2 separate regions of the Homo sapiens genome follow, and region 1 is linked to region 2. Evidence: promoter capture Hi-C in 16 types of primary human blood cells and fetal thymus (Javierre and others, 2016). All regions are on one chromosome and are shown on one strand. The core of a region is centred on a gene start or on the middle of the fragment in contact, and the rest is flanking DNA. Distances in the headings are between cores, read along the strand shown.

Evidence for each region. Contacts are between HindIII fragments. The CHiCAGO score rates a contact against its expected background, and 5 or more counts as called.
Region 1: a contact is called between a fragment that was not itself captured here and the fragment with the promoter of CPA2 in region 2, in 5 of 17 cell types (M0 macrophages, M2 macrophages, endothelial precursors and 2 more). The highest score is 7.5, in M0 macrophages.

What each region holds. Positions count from the first base shown.
Region 1 is chr7:130,617,088-130,619,896 of GRCh38, forward strand. All of the region lies in intron 5 of COPG2 (coat protein complex I subunit gamma 2), which reads right to left. Among named protein-coding and RNA genes, the nearest start is that of COPG2, 50 kb to the right of the region's middle. The HindIII fragment of the contact is 699 bases long and covers 1,121-1,819 here.
Region 2 is chr7:130,265,529-130,268,404 of GRCh38, forward strand. It overlaps CPA2 (carboxypeptidase A2), which reads left to right and starts at 1,335. Exons shown (of 11, transcript NM_001869.3): 1 at 1,335-1,424. The coding sequence starts at 1,354. The HindIII fragment of the contact is 5,023 bases long and covers 43-2,876 here.

The DNA of each region.
Region 1 (2,809 bases), core at 220-2,719, 350 kb after region 2:
ACATAAGATCAATTAAAATCTCTCCCATGGAGTTCACCCCTAGCCAATTTCCAATTGTCCCATAATTATCTTAATGCAGCTACTAATTCAACAAATATTTATGGAGCATATTCTTTGTATATGTGCTAAGACTACTGCGTAGAAGACTGTTCTAATTCAAGAATAAAGCAATGAGCAAAATTAGTAAAAAGCAAAAAGTCCTTTGCCTTCATGGAACTTATCATTCTGGGAGGAAGAAAGATAATCACGTAAACAAAACAACCCCTTCCCCATAATTTTAGATACTGATAATTAGCATAAAAGATAAACTAAGGACAATGGTATAAAGCGTCCTAGTCTGACATACCCCCAAATCCTAAAATCCCATCAGACTAGACATAACTTTTAAAAATAAATTAACAAAAATAATTAACTCAAGAGGTATCTCTCTTTGGCATGGCTTTCTAAAATTATCAATGGCTTCAGACCTTTCTGCTGAGCTTCAAAAACAGGCAGAGGTGTGAACTAGCTACAAAATTCCATGTCCATGCTTTAAAGAGGTTTTTAACCTTTTACCCTCCCTTCTTTAGCTCCCCATGCATTTATACTACTGCTATCAATCTCTCCACTTCCTCAACTCCTCTCACATAATCCAAAATGGTCTACAACTCTGACTCCCTCCATTAGGAAACCAAGAGGAAGAAGTTTTGACTGATAGTCCTTCATTTCTTTTTCAATTAGGAAAGCAATTTGGCCAGGTGTGGTGGCTCATGTCTGTAATCCCAGCACTTTGGGAGGTCAAGGTGGGAGGATTACTTGAGCTCAGGAGTGCAAGACCAGCCTGGGAAACATGACTAAACCCCATCTCTACAGATAATACAAAAATTAGACTGGTGTTGTGGGGTGTGCCTGTAGTCTCAGCTACTTGGGAGGTTGAGGTGGGAGGACTGCTTGAACCCAGGAGGCAGAGGTTGCAGTGAGCTGAGATGGCACCACTGTACTCCAACCTGGGTGACAGAGTGAGACCCTGTCTCAAAAAAAAAAAAAAAAAAAGACTTTTTTTGGAAGTGTCCTGCACTTAAAAAATTTTGTAGCGTGGGCATTTTTCCCTGATGCACTCTTTCTGGCTCTGTCAGATGCAAGCTTGGTTTTCCGGATTTCCAAGAGGATCTATGAACTAGATTCTACTGCCAGCAATGGGGAGCCCTGAACAATACACTCGTTCAGTAATTTAAGTGCCAAGGACTATGAATTTTCCTCTGACCATAGCTTTAGTTGAACTCATAGGTTTTCATCATTAGATTTTAAAAATATTCTGTAATTTCAATTTTTACTTATATACTGTCCCAAAAGTTGAGGTTTTCTTTTTATTTTTCCATTTTGACATATCTGGGTACTATCTGTTCATTTTCTTCTCAAAATAAATGTATCATTTGATTGCATTGTAATGACAGAATAAGTCTCTACTATATTTCCACATTCTAGAATTAACAGGTTTTCAGGGGCTGAATGCTGAATAATTTGTAAGTGTTCCATGAATACTTATAAAGGTGACTTTTCTATTATAAAGGTAAGGTTTTCATAAGTATTAATCAATCTGTATCAAGTATATTATTCATATCTTTTTTACCCTTAGGTTTTTCCTTCTTTTTAAAACAAAGGCTGATACTATTTTGTTTCTATTTACATTTTTTGTGATTTTTGGCTTATGTACTTTGGTGTTACATTAATAAATAATTCATGACAGTTCCTCCTCATTTTGGATAAAGTACCTCATTCTTGTCTCCTTCAAAACTTTTTGCATTTAATTCAATTTTCTAATTATTAATACCTTCACCCAAGCTTCCTTTCAGTAGTGTTTGCCTTATATGCTTTCACCCCTCCTTTTATATTCAAATTTTGCTTTGCCTTGTTTTATATACATCACAATATGTAGCATATAGTTAGCTGTATTTTATTTTTAAACTAATCTGTATTTCTTTTAATAGGCAATGTCTGGTGTTAATTCTATGAATTTGTTTTGTGTTACATCTCTATTTTTAGTACTTTCTTTGTTTCCTATAAGGCAGTGTTATCCAACAGAACTTTTTTCAATGATGGAAAATGTTCCATCATTCAGCATAGTAGCCACAAGCTAAATGTGTCTAATGAGCACTTGAAATATAGCTAGTGTGACTAATGAACTGAATTTTCAATTTTACAAAAGTTCAATTAATGTTCACTATAATAGCCATATGTATCTAATGGCTATCTTATTGGACAATACAGATGTAAGAGTGTCTTTTGTTTTCCTAAGTGAATGTGTTTTCTCTCTGAAATATGGGAGATTTACATTCTAGTTCTTTTTGTCGCTGCCATAAAACTTTAGATAAAAGAGTTAAGCTATGAAAGCAAAAAAATTAATGCACGTAAGCTTTCTCCTCTCTCATCTGCCCTCCCGTGTATCTCCAAATTTTTGTTAGTATTATTCTTTTTGTATTATCATGGATTATAACATTTACATTCTATCTTTAATCATAATTTCTACAGTAGTTTAACCCTACTTCTATAATTGAATACATTCAATGCTCACTGGTAATTCATTTCCTGTAGCCCCTCTATTACAGAATTCACTCTTTTGATTTAATATAACTTCAATGCTTAATTTTATTTTTCAAGAAAAGCTCACAGGTGTTATGGTCCCTGAATTCTTTCCAGTGTGGAAGTCTGCTTGTTGTCCCTGTACTTGAATGACAATTCGCTTAGCTGTATTATTCTTGTATCACATGTTCTGTTTCTTAAAACTTTGCAGATACTGTCCCCATTCTTTTCTGACACTGAAAACTGCCAT
Region 2 (2,876 bases), core at 85-2,584:
GTGAGCCACTGAGCCCAGCCTGAAACTTGATTTTTTCCAGGAAGCTTTTATTGATTCTCCAAGTACATACTTCCAGTTTATTGAACTACTGTTTATTTGATAGGTGCTGGAGACATGAGGATGAATTATGGCCTCTGCCTTTTGGTTTCTGTCTTCTCTCTGACTCCCAGGAGAATGAAAAACCAAGTTAATCCAGTCATTCTTAAAATCAGAAACACTGTGTATATACCTTTCCCCTTAAAGCAGATATTTGAGAATGCAAACCCAGAGATTTAAAGTGTGTGCTGATAAATTTGACACACAAAGGACAGACGAAAATTTCCTTGCTGCTTGTTGTGGTTGAGGCTTTCTAGGCTTAATATAACGTGTATGAACAACTAAAATTAAATAAACTATGGTTTCTAAAAATAAGCAGTTATATTTTCTTCTTAAGCAATGAAGAACAAAGTCAGATTAATGTAGATCTATGTTTATGAACAAGAAAAGATCACCTTTGTTTAAAGAACAGTATACGTGATATGGTCTAATCTTTGTTTAAGAAAAAAACTCGAAAGCAGAGAAAGAAATTTGGAAAGACATATGCCAAATGGTTTTCTTTGGATGGAAGAATTATTGATGGTTAAAGAAAACACTTTCTTTTAATTCACACTTTTTATAACAAGCAACTTCATTGTTGCTTGTTATAGGAAATGTCATCAGAAAGACATTTTCATTTTGGGAAAAAGCACAGAAAGAGGGATATCAATTTGGTGCAAATGCAGATGGATCACTTTCGAGAAAGTGCAAAATTGAATATTAAAAGGCCTTCTGTTTTGTTTTAATGTAGAGTGAGGATTGGAATGGGCCACATCTACAGGGACACTCAGCAGATGTGGACTGAGTGACTGCAGTGTTTCAAGGTAAACATTATAAAAATAAACAAATGAGCAAACTAATGGAATGTGATAGACAGGATGCCTGAGTAATTACTATAAATGCTCTGGCCTTTTTTTTGTGTGTGTGTCAGAGACCCAGAAAAGACTTTAACCTCTAGGTCTATTAATCTGGCTTCTATCACAGGGTAGCTAGTGGCGTTTTATGGTCTCAATCATAACTATATTGCCCTTGGTATGCTCTAGCAATTTTGTTCTCTTTCCATCAAAGTTTGTTATCTTATCCTAGGAATGGAACATGTACACATTGGTGATATCACACAGGTGGATGTCTACAACCTTGAGAATTTCACATGCAGGTGGGAATTTTCCCATGTGGGAATTCACGTGAGTTCTCAGAAGGCCAGCAGATCACCCTCAGCTGCCATCCCTACAAATAAAGTTCAGGAAGGACTCTGAATTCTGGACTCCAGGAAAACCCATGGCCATGAGGTTGATCCTGTTTTTTGGTGCCCTTTTTGGGCATATCTACTGTCTAGAAACATTTGTGGGGTAAGTTATGCTTTCTGGTGCTTCTTTGAATTTTACTTACCTGATTGATGGAGGCTTTGATTGTTACAGAGTAAATGGGTATAAGTGTTCAGTGTTTTCAGAGAAGTTCTCTTAGATTTGGGGATAAGTCAATAGTGTGAAAAAAAGGAGTGGATGATCAAAAAGGAGGTGAATGACATTTAAAGGAAAAGACAAAAGTGAAAACTGAACACACATAACCCTATTTCTCTCTGTCCTTACTCATTTTTCCCTCCAGTGATCAGACTGTAGGGATGATAGACATCAGGGAAAATACAGCTGTGTGGCCATTTGTTCCAGGCAACTCAGCGGGTGTCAATGCTACTCTCCCACCTCCTCCTGCTCTTCTGGGCTTTACCATCCACGTTAGCCCTTGTGCCCTAACCCCCGATCTTTAGATTCAGCACCTAGGTGGTGGAACCTCATGAAGTAGAAAGGCCAGGGCTATAGATTTCAGCTCAACTCCTCCTCTCCTGGCTTTGGAGGACTCATCTTTGCTCCAAAGTACTTTGCTTCATGATTCTATGAAGGGTTTCAGGCAGCATTTTTTGAAGAGTGGTCCAGGGAGCTAAGAAAGCAATCAAATAAGTTTGGTCCCAAAAAGCCACTGGTCAAATAAATGTGGGAATCAGAGGATTAAACAAACTATAGGATTTCTAGGAGCCTTGGCTAAATCAGTGTGCATTATAAATCTATAAGAGGGGATCTAGGTTGCAGCATGTACTCTTTTTTTTAATCATAAACTACCTACTGCTCCCAGCTTGCCCTTTCTTTCTTTCTCTTTCTCTTTCTTTCTTTCTTTCTCTTTCTTTCTTTCTTTCTTTCTTTCTTTCTTTCTTTCTTTCTTTCTTTCTTTCTTTCTTTCACTGAGTAACTCAAAGAACTACTATTCTTTAGAACACACACCAGGAAATATGACCCTGTTGTATTACTTTTCTCAGTGCCTTCCCATTTTAAAGGAGGACTCCTGGGAGTCCATGCATTAACCGAAAATAATGAGACTTAAATGGAAGAATTTTCAGACCATTTGTGGCAGGTGAGCCTCGAAGAGCTCACATTCCATCACTTCTGTATTCCACTGGAGTTCGTAGGAAATTGCATGGAGCTTGGTTTCAGAAGACCCATATTCTGGTCCCTGTACATGGCTCATTGTATTGATTCCTTCCCCACTGCACAAACAGTTGGGGCAGTGACTTAGGAAGTCTGCCTACGTGGAGAAAGGCTAGAAGGGGAAACTCTGTCACCAAGGGAACTCTTCCTAAAGAGATGTGCTTGATTGTTTTGAGATTTCTCTTTCCTGTTCATCCTTCATTCCCTATTAAGGGGGTGTGTGTGTGTGTGTGTGTGTGTGTGTGTGTGTGTGTGTTTGTAAAGAGAGGCACGGCACATAATTTGTCAGGGTCCCAACTATCTCTGGCCATGCCCCATGTTTGG